Linked DNA regions of Homo sapiens: all the other regions are linked to region 3. The links are contacts of gene promoters, found by promoter capture Hi-C in blood cells and fetal thymus (Javierre and others, 2016). All regions are on one chromosome and are shown on one strand. Each heading gives the region's core, a stretch centred on a gene start or on the middle of the fragment in contact. The rest is flanking DNA. Distances are from core to core; before and after follow the strand shown. Region 1 has its middle 3.2 kb from the start of GLS2. Region 2 overlaps GDF11 (growth differentiation factor 11). Region 3 holds the start of RPL41 (ribosomal protein L41). Region 4 overlaps RBMS2 (RNA binding motif single stranded interacting protein 2). Region 5 has its middle 2.3 kb from the start of RBMS2.

Evidence for each region. Contacts are between HindIII fragments. The CHiCAGO score rates a contact against its expected background, and 5 or more counts as called.
Region 1: a fragment that was not itself captured here is called in contact with the fragment with the promoter of RPL41 in region 3 in 5 of 17 cell types (naive CD4 T cells, total CD4 T cells, naive B cells and 2 more); the score reaches 9.0 in naive CD4 T cells.
Region 2: a fragment that was not itself captured here is called in contact with the fragment with the promoter of RPL41 in region 3 in 4 of 17 cell types (fetal thymus, naive CD8 T cells, naive CD4 T cells and 1 more); the score reaches 7.4 in fetal thymus.
Region 4: a contact is called between a fragment that was not itself captured here and the fragment with the promoter of RPL41 in region 3, in 1 of 17 cell types (fetal thymus). The highest score is 5.7, in fetal thymus.
Region 5: a fragment that was not itself captured here is called in contact with the fragment with the promoter of RPL41 in region 3 in 1 of 17 cell types (naive CD4 T cells); the score reaches 5.4 in naive CD4 T cells.

What each region holds. Positions count from the first base shown.
Region 1 is chr12:56,489,984-56,492,683 of GRCh38, reverse strand. No RefSeq gene overlaps it. Among named protein-coding and RNA genes, the nearest start is that of GLS2, 3.2 kb to the right of the region's middle. The HindIII fragment of the contact is 1,138 bases long and covers 873-2,010 here.
Region 2 is chr12:55,747,152-55,749,851 of GRCh38, reverse strand. It overlaps GDF11 (growth differentiation factor 11), which reads right to left. Exons shown (of 3, transcript NM_005811.5): 2 at 869-1,266; 3 at 1-350. Among named protein-coding and RNA genes, the nearest start is that of GDF11, 5.4 kb to the right of the region's middle. RefSeq lists an enhancer at 2,330-2,700. The HindIII fragment of the contact is 9,248 bases long and covers 1-2,700 here.
Region 3 is chr12:56,115,194-56,117,893 of GRCh38, reverse strand. RPL41 (ribosomal protein L41) reads right to left here and starts at 1,261. Exons shown (of 3, transcript NM_001035267.2): 1 at 1,095-1,261; 2 at 683-705; 3 at 1-412. The coding sequence starts at 1,106. The coding sequence ends at 370. RefSeq lists an enhancer at 1,620-1,669. The HindIII fragment of the contact is 11,197 bases long and covers 1,075-2,700 here.
Region 4 is chr12:56,570,770-56,573,469 of GRCh38, reverse strand. RBMS2 (RNA binding motif single stranded interacting protein 2) reads right to left here. Exons shown (of 14, transcript NM_002898.4): 5 at 1,615-1,772. Among named protein-coding and RNA genes, the nearest start is that of RBMS2, 50 kb to the right of the region's middle. The HindIII fragment of the contact is 3,027 bases long and covers 1-2,700 here.
Region 5 is chr12:56,518,180-56,520,879 of GRCh38, reverse strand. It overlaps a transcript of RBMS2 not described here. Among named protein-coding and RNA genes, the nearest start is that of RBMS2, 2.3 kb to the left of the region's middle. The HindIII fragment of the contact is 4,136 bases long and covers 1-2,700 here.

The sequences.
Region 1 (2,700 bases), core at 192-2,691, 370 kb before region 3:
TTAATAGCTATTGGAGAACCCAGATTATACAAGATATTATTTGGAAAAATAGAGAAAATGCATGTTAGGCATCGTAAATGGACCAGTGTGATGATATGTTTTTTAATAGGCTTATATTTATATTTTTTCAGTCCTATAAATGTTCATTTTGTTATTGCTAAACCAAAGAAGAATTAGGAAAGCACACTGGAGTAGATCACAGACACGCTTAAACTTTTATTAAATTTCATTTACTCCATGAAAGTCTAGCATCAAGTTAAAACATGCATCCCATACCTACATCCTCAGTTTCATTGGTCCCCATTCTTTTTTTTTTTTTTTTTTTTTTTTTTGAGATGGAGTCTCGCTGTCACCCAGGCTGGAGTGCAGTGGCGCGATCTTGGCTCACTGCAACCTCTGCCTCCCAGGTTCAACTGATTCTCCTGCCTCAGCCTCCTGAGTAGCTGAGATTACAGGTGCATGCCACCACGCCTGGCTAATTTTTGTATTTTCAGTAGAGATGGGGTTTCACCGTGTTGGTCAGGCTGGTCTCGAACTCCTGACCTTGTGATCTGCCCACCTCAGTCTCCCAAAGTGCTGGGATTACAGGCATAAGCCACCACGCCCGGCTGGTCCACATTCTTATACCCACGTTTCATTCCAACCAAACTAGAGGTAGAGTCCCTCAAATGTTCCTCTCAGGCTATGTTTATTCTTGTAGAGCCCTCTGTCTGAAACACCTCTCGTGCTTTAAAAACCAGCTCCTGTCAGTCACCATTCCTCTTCTATCCCAGTGGCCCTTCACCCCCAGCTTAGTTAGATGTCCCCTTTATACTTTCTTCTGCATGTCTCTACATCACAGCATTTTTCATTAGGAATTTTAAACATAAGCTTTCTCATTTCTCCCAGTAGAAACTGGTTTATTAAATTTTTAAATTTCTGGATTTTCCAGCACTGGACCTGGCACACTGAATGCCAACAAATAAATATTAATTGAGTGAATGGAAGCTCATTATGTCAGAGCCCCAAGTACTTACATTTTACCCAGTAAAATACAAGTTTATCTTTTACAAATGGAGAAACTAAGGCAGAAAGGAGTTTGTAACAATAGTATCATTAACAAAGATTAATAAAAAAATGAACTAATCTTTTACTTGGACCAATTAACATCCTAGCTACAGTCTAAAGAGTAGAACAGGCCAGGTGCGGTGGCTCACACCTGCAATCCTAGCACTTTGAGAGGCTGAGGCGGGCAAATCAAGGGGTCAGGAGTTCGAGACCAGCCTGGCCAACATAGTGAAACTCCGTCACTACTAAAAATACGAAAATTAGCCGAGCATATTGGCGGGTGCCTGTAATCCCAGCTATTCGGAAGGCTGAGGCAGGAGAATTGCTTGAACCCGGGAGGCGGATGTTGCAGTGAGCCAAGATCACACCATTGCACTCCAGCATGGACGACAGAGCGAGACTCCATCACACACACACACACACACACACACACACACACACACAAAATAGAGTAGAACAAATGAGTCTCTAAATCATAAGAAATAAACAAACTCCAAACATCAATTTCCTATCACAGAGGATTAGCTTTTCCTTCTTTCTTTCTTTTCTTTTTTTTTTTTTGTTTGAGACGGAGTTTTGCTCTTGTTGCCCGGGCTGGAGTGCAATGGCGTGATCTCAGCTCACCGCAACCTCCGCCTCCCAGATTCAAGCAATTCTCCTGCCTCAGCCTCCTGAGCAGCTGGGATTACAGGCATGAGCCACCGCGCCCGGCCCGGATTTAGCTTTTATTAAGGATTCAAAATCATTAAGTCTAATCCTCTCTCACATACCACAAAACTCTGGCACAGCCATGGACTAACCTAAAAGCCCACTGTTAGAGACACAAAGAACTTTCTTTCAGTTATGAAAATCTTCATTTCTAGCTGCCCTTGTCATAGTTGGCTAATAGTTTTGCACAAATTAAACTAGATGATGAGTATTTTTCAAATTAGAAACAAAAAGAGGACCTGACCCTGCCAAGCTTTAACCACCTGGGACAACAAACTTGTTCTTCTCCAGCATCTTATACTTTACACAGTACCATTGGCCTCCCAAGTCACCAGTTCATGCTCCATCCTCATGCAAAGACAGCAATATTGTATTGGAGACAGTTAGTCCAAAGGTCCAAGTGCAGCTGGAGCTAGTTCTCTAAGCAAAGAACCTCTGCTTCCATGCATAGATCTTCTTCACTACCCAACCAGTTCCTATTAGTGGAAGAGTGCTGGGAGAAAGAGAGTAAGGAACTCATTAGAGTATAAAGCTAATTCAAAGAGGCAGAAATAGGAAAAAAAGGAAGCAAATTACTTCTGGGTAATGTTTAGAAATTCCCTAACAGATGGTATTTTTCTCTTGAATAGATCAAAACGTTTCAGATAAATCATATTTCTATGAAACAAGGATAAGATTCGTCTGTTACGTATGAAAAAAACTAATGCAGGATTGAGTTTACGTTAAGTATTGAGACCCAGAACTCTGCCTCTTGGGCAAAGCCAAGCATAAAGCAGCAAGCCCTCCCAGAATTAGACGGCTTTCCACGGACAGGAGAACAGATACAGCAGACACAGAATGACTACAGAAGGCGAAAACAAGCAAAAACAAATGTCACTCCATCTGGTTTTAAGCCAAATAAGCCCTCCAACCCTAACCAAGGCAAAGGAGAACTGCCTTTCCACA
Region 2 (2,700 bases), core at 117-2,616, 370 kb after region 3:
CCAGGGATCTTGCCGTAGATAATCTGCTGCTTGTCATTGAAGTAGAGCATGTTGATTGGGGACATCTTGGTGGGGGTACAACAGGGCCCAGCAGAGCCTCTTGGATTGGCCTGCTGCACCAAATGGGTATGCGGATATTTTTGCATGAACATGTACTCGCACTGGCCGGAGCAGTAGTTGGCCTTGTAGCGCTTAGGTGCGATGATCCAGTCCCAGCCGAAAGCCTCAAAGTCCACTGTGAGGGGATATCGGCAGCAGCGGGACTCGCTTGAGTGCTCGTCGCAGTCCAGACCCAGGTTCCGCCGGGAACGTTTTGTGTTCTCTAGGACTCGAAGCTCCATGAATGGATGCTGAGGGTCAGGGAGAGGGGAAAGAAATGTGATATGGTCCTGAACAGTTCCTCTTCCCTGTTCCTTTCCCACCTGCCAGGGGCATCAGAATAGAGACTGCTGACTTCTCAGCTTTTCCATTGCTCCCACCCCCAGAATTTATCTTTTGCCCACTTTTCTTGCCAGCTAGCTAGCTCTCCTTCAACTCACCATCTCTAATTCTTACTCTTCTGGCAACCTGATCCCTGTCAGCCCCTTGGCCCAACGCCTCAACAGCCAGTTTTTTTGTTCTCACAGCTCTTCCATTAACTGACACCTTTACCTTCAAATCCAGTTTTCAGCTGTTGTCTGATTTGGATCCTTGAGAAGTAATAGTTGCCACCCCACTCCTCACCTCCTCCTCTAGAATCAGCTGCTGACCCCAGAGAAGTAATGCTGGTCCCCAACCTCCTTCACATTCCTTGTCTACCTTTTCCAATGTAACCCTATCTCCTCAGGGCCAGGTTACACATATCCACCACCTCAGGCCCCCTGCTCACCAGCCCCTCGGCTCCCGGCCCCAGGGAGGTGACAGCCAGGTCTGTGCCACTGGGATCAAAGGCGTTGATCTCGATGCCCCAGTTGCTCTGTGGCTGGCGGAACCAGCTGTGTAGCACTTGCTTGAAGTCGATGCTCTGCCAATGGCCTGAGCGTGAGTGCAGCTCAATCTTCAGTGAGCGGATACGGATGTGACGCCGGCCTCCGCCCCCTCCCCCTGCGGTCCCTTCCCCAGTTAGGGGTTTTAGTCGCAAGATCTGCAGGTAGACTGTGGCTGGGCGGGGTACAGGCCGTAGGTACACCCACAGCTGGGCCTTCAGTACCTTTGTGAACATCACCTTGGGGCTGAAGTGAAAATGGCAGCAGAGAGGGCTGCCATCTGTCTGTACTGCTGGGTCCGCTGATAAGAGAGAAGGGCACAGCATCAGCAAAGGGTGTTTGTGTAGGGGATCAGTAGTCCTGGGTGGCACTGGCAATTTTGGACTTCTCAGCCTGATTTTCCAGTTCTTCTTTACCCTTCTCCCATGCCTATCTTATACCATGTCTCCGGTACCTAAAACAGCACTTCCTCTTTAGGATGATGGCCCTATAAGGCCTTACTGATCTGTGTCCATTTCCTAATCCATTTGCCCTAATATATAGGTTCCTGTCTACCAGATAACCTGCAAAATTATTCATCCACCACCATCCTTACTGTCCAACTTTTCCCAGCATATAAGGCTCCAACATTTTCTGAATCTTTGAAGCTCTTTATAGAAGCCATACCTCTTATCACACCTGCTGCCCTTCCATCACCTTTCCCCTATCTGCTCTGATTTATCTGCTGGACAGGTAGAGCCTGGCACATCCCTCCCCCACAAAATAACACAGATGGCCTCAGAGAGGGGATAACCCAGGGTCCAGATAGGGAGCATGAGCTAAATTTATCCCATTATGTAAACCAGAATTCAGATCTAGGCTTCTTGCCTCACTCCCATTAGGAATAACACCCAGCAAAATGGAACTATCCAAGCACTTCCTATACATCTGTCTCCCCATTCTCTCTTAAGAAGTTTCTTCAGCTGCTGCTCCATCATCATCACCATGACTGCCCCCAGCTCTTGAGGAAAGGAATAATTACCTCCATGGTGTTGCCTCCTATTTGCCTAAAGCACCAGAAATAATATTAAATACACCAGATTAACTACAATGCCTTTTTTCTCCCCTGAGCTTCCTTTGACTTCTCAGTCTAGTGCCAGTAGGTCTTTACAAAGTTTGAACATCCCAACTTTACATTTTGACCCATTTCCCCTTGCTCTGGACCTTAAATTGATCCTTCTTGGGTCTAATAGATGATTCTCAATAAATATCTGCCTCTGCCTCCATTCCAGCTCCTCTTCACTGCCTTTCCTAAGTCAGTTGGGAGTGTCCTACAACATGTCTCCATTGGACAGAATATGTCTATCCTGACTCTAGATAGGAAGAATCAGGAATGAGCTTCCAGAGCCATATAAGCAGGGTTAGGAAGTCTAGGCCTTTAAGTATCCTCCCCATGTCTTGAGTTCTGCAAAATCAGGATGGACTTAGGGTGTCCTGTCAGCTCTTCCCCACCCCCACCCTGGGAGAAAGAGGACCTTCTAAGGGAGATGAGGAGAAAGTGCTTAATGAACTTCATATATTCAGGATATGATACCCAAAGTCTCTATAGCTTTTTTTTTTCTTGATTATTCTCTGAGGTCCCAGGGCCCTGGTAGTCCAGTTATTTTACTGGCTGGAGCTTCAGTGATGGTGCAATGGAGTAGGGTTTGGGGGGTGAGAATTCAGAGATCAGAAGTAGCTGGGATAGGGAAGCTAC
Region 3 (2,700 bases), core at 12-2,511:
GCAAACTCTAATGACAGAAAACCCCCACCCGATGGAACCATAAAAAACATAATAGACAAGATGATTTAATTCTTCAGCTAAAACAGCGGAAGAGGTGATTTATTATATGGTTGTTACACTCGGCCACAAATAAACACAGAAATAGTCCAGAATGTCACAGGTCCAGGGCAGAGGACCAACATGGGCATTTTGTTTATGAGCAAGGTGGGTCTCAGAGGTGATCGGCGATCAGAGGGCGATGAAGTTCTAGATCCATTGAGACAAGCTCTAGACAGTAGCATGCAGTCCCACAACTTGTACCAGCATCCCCAGCGTCTGGCATTCCATGTTTCTGCTCCTGTGGCCTCCACGGTGCAACAAGCTAGCGGTTTACTTGGACCTCTGCCTCATCTTTCTTCTTTTGCGCTTCAGCCTGAAAAGCAGACACAGGAATGGAATACACCTCAAACCAGAGTTGCCTTTCCCTCCCACATTAAATCAAACGTCCACATAAAGAATGAGGTGGTAAAATGAACAAGCACTACGGTTCTATCGTTCTCTGTTCTGTTAAATCCTGGCTCCAGGGAGAAAACACTCAAACGTTTTTCTCCTAAAGATCTTTTAAGATTTCCAAACCAAATGTTTCTCCTAAGTTTTGTCCAAGGAACTTCCCTCCTCCTGGGCTGGCAAAGTCTCAACGTACCTGCGCATTCGCTTCTTCCTCCACTAGCAACCGATCACAAGCAGCAGATAATTAAAAAAAAAAAAAAAAAAAAGGGATGAAGCTTATTAGTAGGCTTAGCAAGGATATGAAATGCACTCTTTAGAACCGGACAGATTCTTAACCAAGAAGTATGAAAGATTGGTCGTAACAACTACATCAGTAACTTGGACACCCTCCCAACATAAGATCAGAATTCCACCCTTTTCTAAGCCCACCCTCTCTACCCATAGCACTTAACCGCTAGCTCTCTCACAAACTACCTTCTCTCTCCCACCAGCTCTTGGGCACCCTTGAAACCCAGTAGTTCAGGAGGTATGGCGGACTTGCCTTCGTCTCCTCGCTACTACTCGCCAACTCCTACCTCCCAAGCTTACTACCAGGAACCGCTCACCTTGGCTCTCATGGCGCAGAGGTTTCTACAGGGAAAGAGAGAAAGGCTACAGTTAGTTTGCTGTGATGATGCTAAGTGCCGAGGTCAGATGTCTATGGATTGTACACGGAATCCCAACGCAGGAACCAAAAAACACTCACCCAAAAAAATGGCGCTAAGGCCGAGAGAAAGGCGAAGTTCCGTCTACGGCTATTTAATGGAGCGCCGGGTGTCGTCACTTCCGCTTTCACGCCCTTTGCCCCCCCCAAGGGCGGGGCTACCCAATGGGCGTAACAGTGGTTTTCGGACCCTCTTGTAGAAGGGTAGGTTGAGTTAGTTCTTTCGGAAGACCGAGTATTTGGTTTTCGAGTTACCAGTTCCCCCCCAGATTTAGTATGAGGACGCTGTGTTATTTAAACGTCAGCACCTATTTCCAATATTGGACCTAGAGGTGCAGACGGGGAAAAAATAGTGACCGCCACCTTCCCTCGCATTGCTTCTTGGGAGTTGCAGTTCCCTGGAGAAGTCCTCCATTTTGCTATGGATAGGCGCGGACTGTACAGAAATTCTTGTTTTACTGGTTTGCCTTCTTTTCTTTCTTTCTTTCTTTCTTTCTTTCTTTCTTTCTTTCTTTCTTTCTTTCTTTCTTTCTTTTCTTTCTTTCTTTCTTTTTTTCTTTTTTGAGACAGGATCTCACTGTGTCACCCAGGCTGGAGTGCAGTGACGCGATCTCGGCTCACCGCAATTTCCGCCTCCTGAATACAAGCGATTCTCCCGCCTCAGCTTCCCGAGCAGCTGGGACAACAGGCGCGCGCCACTTGGCTAATTTTTGTATTTTTAGTAGAGACGAGGTTTCGCTGTGTTGCCCAGGCTGGTCTCGAACTCCTGAGCTCAAGCGATCCGCCCGCCTCGGCCTCTCAAAGTGCTGGGATTACAAGCATGAACCACCGCGCCCAGCCGGTTTGCCTTATTTTCTAAAATAAATTGCTGCAGGGTGATTCGATTCCGGAACCATCGAAGGTCCTAAGATTTCAGAACATAGGAAGATATAAAGTGGGGATTCGGGAAAGCTGCCATACTTCAAAAAATATTTTCTCACTGTTTAAGATAGAGCAATTATTTTTCCTAAATTTCAAGAATAAAATAGCTGATTATGGTCTTCCCCCACGATGCCCGAAGCAAAATATCACTAGAGATTCCTGGCTACAATGCATCATTTGTTCAGAAAATACGTCAGCGGGCTGGGCACGGTGGCTCATGCCTGTAATCCCAGCGCTTTGGGAGGCTGAGGTGGGGGAATCTCGAGCCCAGGAAGTCGAGGCTGCAGTGACCTATGCAGTGATTCTCTAGGGGTGAAGAGCGAACCAACGGACATAGGGAGAAAATTACCTAAATCTAGGGAAAGTATGACATTTGGTGTTAAGATAAAGAACTTCCCAGTTTGATTGTATGCTCAGGTGAGAAGCACTGGAAAACAACCAGATCCCCTAAGATTTGGCTACAGGAAACTTTTGAGTTAATGGGGGATGAAAAAGAACCCTTTCCCTATAGAGACTTCATCTTACAGTTTTAAAATACTGTAACATTTTGTATGTGATTGTTACAATCCCTCTTTTTTTGTGGTTTC
Region 4 (2,700 bases), core at 189-2,688, 460 kb before region 3:
CGTCTCGCTTTGCTGCCCAGGCTGGAATGCAATGGCGCGATCTCGGCTTACTGCAACCTCCGCCTCCCGGGTTCAAGTGATTCTCCTGCCTCAGCCTCCCGAGTAGCTGGGACTACAGGAGCCCGCCACCATACCCAGCTAATTTTTGTATTTTTAGTAGAGACGGGGTTTCACCAGGTTGGCCAGGCTGGTCTCAAACTCCTGACCTCAGGTGATCCACCCGCCTCAGCCTCCCAAAGTGCTGGGATTACAGGCGTGAGCCACCACGCCCAGCCAAGAGAAACTATTTCTTGTTCCCAAGGTCTGAAACACTCAGAGTAAGGGGGTGTTCACGGACCAGACAAGATATAAAGCAAAAAGGGGTGCTTGGCTCACTTAGTCCAGTCATTTTGAAACTAAAAAAAAAAAAAAAAGTCAAAAGAATCTCCTTTCAAATAAAATCTTAAAATAAATAAAAGCAGAGCCATTTCTTAAGTGGGCTAAGGGAGGCTGATACCCTACGACAGTGAGGGCAGATACCAAAGCCCAAAGAAGGGCACCTGGGAAAACTGCAGGTATAGGGAATACTGTGGGAAAATTACTCATCTGAATCAATCTCCACTTCAGAGAGTGAACCAAGGCTCACAAGCTCTGATATCACAGGTGCAGAATTGTTCTGGAATACAGGTCTCCCAACAGATCTGAAAAGGAAGATCAAAACTTCTACCTCATCCTACTGCTCTCAAAGCCAGAAGGATCAGGGCTCTGCTCTAACACCCACTCCTGTAAGACCCTGGGCAAATCATTTCTACTGAAGAGTTCACTTTCCTCATCTGTAAGATAGAGAATATTTATCTCACAGGGATGTTGTAAAGATTAAATGAGACAAGATGAGAAATACTCAGTAAACTATAAGAATATACAGAATTTTTTACTCTGGTTGGGTCTGGATTAAAGGAACAAAGCCTAGAGTACTTCCCTAGGAAGTAGTAGGGAGCTTAGCCGAGTGTGGTGGCTCATGCCTGTAATCCCAACTGCTTAGGTGGCTGAGGCAGGAGGATCACTTGAGCCCAGATGTTCAAGAGCAGCCTGGGCAACACAGCAAGACCCCATCTTTATAAAAAAAATATTTAGGTGGGGCTAATGGGTTTTTGAGTATTGTAACCTATAATAAAATGAACCTTTTTTTTTTTTTTTTTTTTGAGACAGAGTCTCACTCTGTTCCCCAGGCTGCAGTGCAGTGGTGCGATCTCAGCTCACTGCAACCTCTGCCTCCCAGGTTCAAGCAATTCTCCTGCCTCAGCCTCCTGAGTAGCTGGGATTACAGGCATGCGCCACCACGTCTGGCTAATTTTTGTATTTTTAGTAGAGACGGGGTTTCACCATGTTTGCCAGGCTGGTCTCAAACTCCTGACCTCAGGTGATATGCCTGCCTTGGCCTCCTAAAGTGCTGGGATTACAGGTGTAAGCCACCGCACCTGGCCTAAAATGAACTTTTGACTTACCATCAAGTATTTTTGAATAATAGTAAAGTATTTTGACCTTGTGTGGGAAAGGCATAGATTTTGTTTTCTGGTGACCCCCAAGTGACATTTGTTATTAACCTCATCATTTCCCCACTCCTGCCATCCTCACCTTGCAAAGCCAACACCTCTGCTGGTCCCACTGGTATCTCGAAGGATACGGGTGGAGATAACCTGGCCAAAGGGCTTCAGCATCCCCTCCAGTTCCTGCTCATCCATTGACAGTGGGAGGTTTGAGATGTATAAATTTGTGGGGTCCTGTTCCTGTTGCTGTGGAAATAACAGTGAGAAAATGAGGCTCACATCTCTTATCCCTCTCCCACCCTCAGCCCTCCCCACAAATGACATTTCAGAAAAGAGACTATAGGAAGGGTCCCACATAAACAAAGATTATTCTATTTGTTAACACCCAGTCCCACTACCACGGGTTGTATATTGAGTTCCAGGAGGGAGAAGTGCAGATTTAATATTTCTAGTACTATACAAGCCCATCATACAAGTCATAAATGGTGTTTGGCTGTCTCTTTTAGAAACAGGCAGAGCAGCATTCCCGCTCTCCCCCAGCAGCCGGTCCCAGAGGCTGGATTCCCTCAGACTGCCTTGCTCCTTGGCTGGCTTGTTTTGAGCAGCCCCTCCCCACTTCTCTTCCAGCCACGCAGAATCCTCTAAGTAGGAATGCCTGTTCACTCCCTGATGGAGGAAGAGCAGGAGGAGGGGAGAAGGGAACAGGGAGAGAGCCAGATGCAGAGTTCACTGTGTCACCACGGAGCCCTGAAAGCTACAGTCTCCTAGGACCCTGAAGGCTCCTAAACCTTTGAGCTTTTGTCAGAGGGTTTTACTCCTGGAAGAAGAGGTAGGAGAGCCCTTCCAGGGGACAGAATGTGCAAAATGGCAATATCATCCAATAGTTGTATTTTTAAGAATTTAAGCAGTCACTCTGCCCTAAACAGTGGTCACCAGCAACCTTAATCCTCTTCTGCCTTTTCCTTTTGTTTTCCTTTTCTTTAACCATTACAGAAAAGGTGTCTAGCAGGCCTGCCTCACAAGCTCTATGTATAATACTCATAACAGCTTCAGAAAGGCAAAGGGACAGCCAGGCGTGGTGGCTCATGCCTGTAATCCCAGCACTTTGGAAGGCTGAGGTGGGCGGATCACAACGTCAGGAGATCGAGACCATCCTGGCTAACACGGTGAAACC
Region 5 (2,700 bases), core at 132-2,631, 400 kb before region 3:
CTTTACCCTGCTATTTCCTCATCTTTAAGATCCATGAAACTGAAACAATTACAGTAACTCACCAAACCTGGAGTTTATGTCTAAATTGAAGTCTACAGTTGGGATGTCTGCTTTGAGTTGTCTTTGAGCTGTTTAAAAAAAAAAAATACTTAAGAAGCATATGCTTCAACAGAATAAAAACACAAAATTCTTAGGAAGGAATACAAATTTCAGAGTCAAGAACCTAATAGAGTTGCAACACTTACCTCTACTAGTTTCCAAAGAATGTCTTTGTAGGCGTAACCTTAACAAGAAAGGAAACCAAAAACTTAAGAATGATATCCAGTAACCCCTACCAATCCAAGTGCAATAGGGATGTTAAATGAAAGCCTTCAAATCCCTTCATAAGGCCACCTTGCTGCCATCCTAAGTAGTTTCTTGAGATATAAATTAACCCTGTCTGTTTTGTGACAACAAATATTAAGCCCAAACCCTCCCTCAAATGAAGTTCTGGTCTCTATTCTAGTTTCCGTGTCACTTTTTTGCTATGATAATGGAACAGACAGTATTAGTATTCTGCAGAGTAAATATACATACCCTACCCCCAATCTCTAACTTTCATTTCCAATAGGACAGGAAGTGCCTGCTCAGCTCAGGGGACACAGGAAGGGTGGGAGAGCCTCAGTGTGGGAATTGCAACTGAGACTGGAAACACAGCAGCCAAATGCAGTAAATAAATAAATGAAGGCATCACTCAGTGATATCTTTTTTTTTTTCTGAGACAGAGTCTTGCTCTGTTGCCCAGGCTAGAGTGCAGTGGTGCTATCTTGGCTCACCGCAACCTCTGCGTCCCGGGTTCAAGCGATTCTCCTGCCTCAGCCTCCCGAGTAGCTGAGACTATAGGCATGCGCCACCATGCCCGGCTAATTTTTTTGTATTTTTAGTAGTCTTGTTGGCCAGACTGGTCTCAAACTCCCGACCTCAGGTGATCTGCCCGCCTTGGCCTCCCAAAGTGCTGGGATTACAGGAGTGAGCCACCGCGCCCGGCCCATATATATATATATATATATTTTTTTAAGTCCTTTTTCTGCTCTCAGAGACTCTCATTAACCAATTTATCCTTGCTGTTTAGGCCCTTGGATGATATCTTCTCCTTTACCCTAACAATGTGGTACAGAAACCTTTCTCTTGAAGGCCTGATTCATAAAGGCAATCAACCCAATTTAACTTTTTTTTTAAGTCTAATTTTTCTTTCTACTTTTTTTTTTTCCCCCTGAGACAGAGTCTCACTCTGTCGCCAGGCTGGAGTGCAGTGGTGCAATCTTGGCTCACTGAAACCTCTGCCTCCCGGGTTCAAACGATTCTCCCGCCTTAGCCTCCTGAGTAGCTGGTACTACAGGCATGTGCCACGACGCCCAGCTAATTTTTGTATTTTTAGTGGAGACGGGGTTTCACCATGTTGGCCAGTCTGGTCTCGAACTCCTGACCTCAGGCAATCCACCCGCCTTGGCCTCCCAAAGTGCTGGGATTACAGGTGTGAACCACGGCACCCGACCGAAAAATCTAAATTTTTATAATCTGGTAAATTAGGACCACAGAAGTAAAATGACCCGGATATGCAAACTGATGCCAAAGGTGTATTATGTTAAAGAGCACCAACAAAACTGGAAACTAAATCCTTCATTCTGGTGAGTATATGTATTATAAACATATATTTTTTTTTATGACAGGGTCTCACTCTGTCACCTAGGCTGGAGTGCAGTAGCACAATCACGGCTCACAACAGGCAGCTTTGACTTCCCCAGGTTCAGGTGATCCTCACACCCATCCCACCCCTCCCCACCCTGTAGCTGGGACTACAGGCATGCACCACCACACCTGGCTAACTTTTGTAATTTTTTTTTTTTTGGTAGAGACGGGGTTTCATCATGTTGCCCAGGCTGGTCTTGAATTCCTCAGCTCAAGCAATTTGCCCACCTCAGTCTCCAAAACTGCTGGCATTACAGGTGAGTATATTTGTAAAGGAGTTATGGAATTCTGTGGAAATGATGGGGAAGGTAATGGTGTTCTGTGGTTAGATTCAGGAAGTATACGGGAGGAGGAAGAATCCTACTTCCTCCAGTGTATTTACTTTGACGCCCTTCTGCTTTGCCCATTACATTGCCCACATTTTTCCAGATTTAGTCAATGCCTCTCTAATTCTTGGTTCTCATGAACCCAGCACTCAGGAATTGTTTTGAAGGGAAAAAAGCAAAATGAGAGTTATCTGTAACTTCTTTGGGGAAGAGACATTTGTACCTGATTCAATATAGGCTTGTTTGTGATTTCTCCAGAAAAACAACTCTTTTAAACAAGTGTCCAAGGTGAAGGAGTAGGGGCTAGGTCAACCCCAAAATGTAGCTGAAAAATGTCCCAGCACTTTGGGAGGCTGAGGTGGGCAGATTGCTTCAGTCCAGGAGTTCAAGACCAATGTGGGCAACATGGCAAAACCCCATTTCTGCTAAAAATACAAAAAACTAGCCAGGCATGGTAGTGCATATCTGTAGTCCCAACTCCTCAGGAGGCTGAGTTGGGAGAGCCATCTGAGCCTGGGAGGTCGAGGCTGCAGTGAGCTGAGATGGCGCCACTGTACTCCAGCCCAGGCAACCAAAGTGAGATCCTGTCTCAAAATAAAAGAAAAAGAAAAATAAAGAAAAATGTTTGCATGCCTCTATTGGCCCC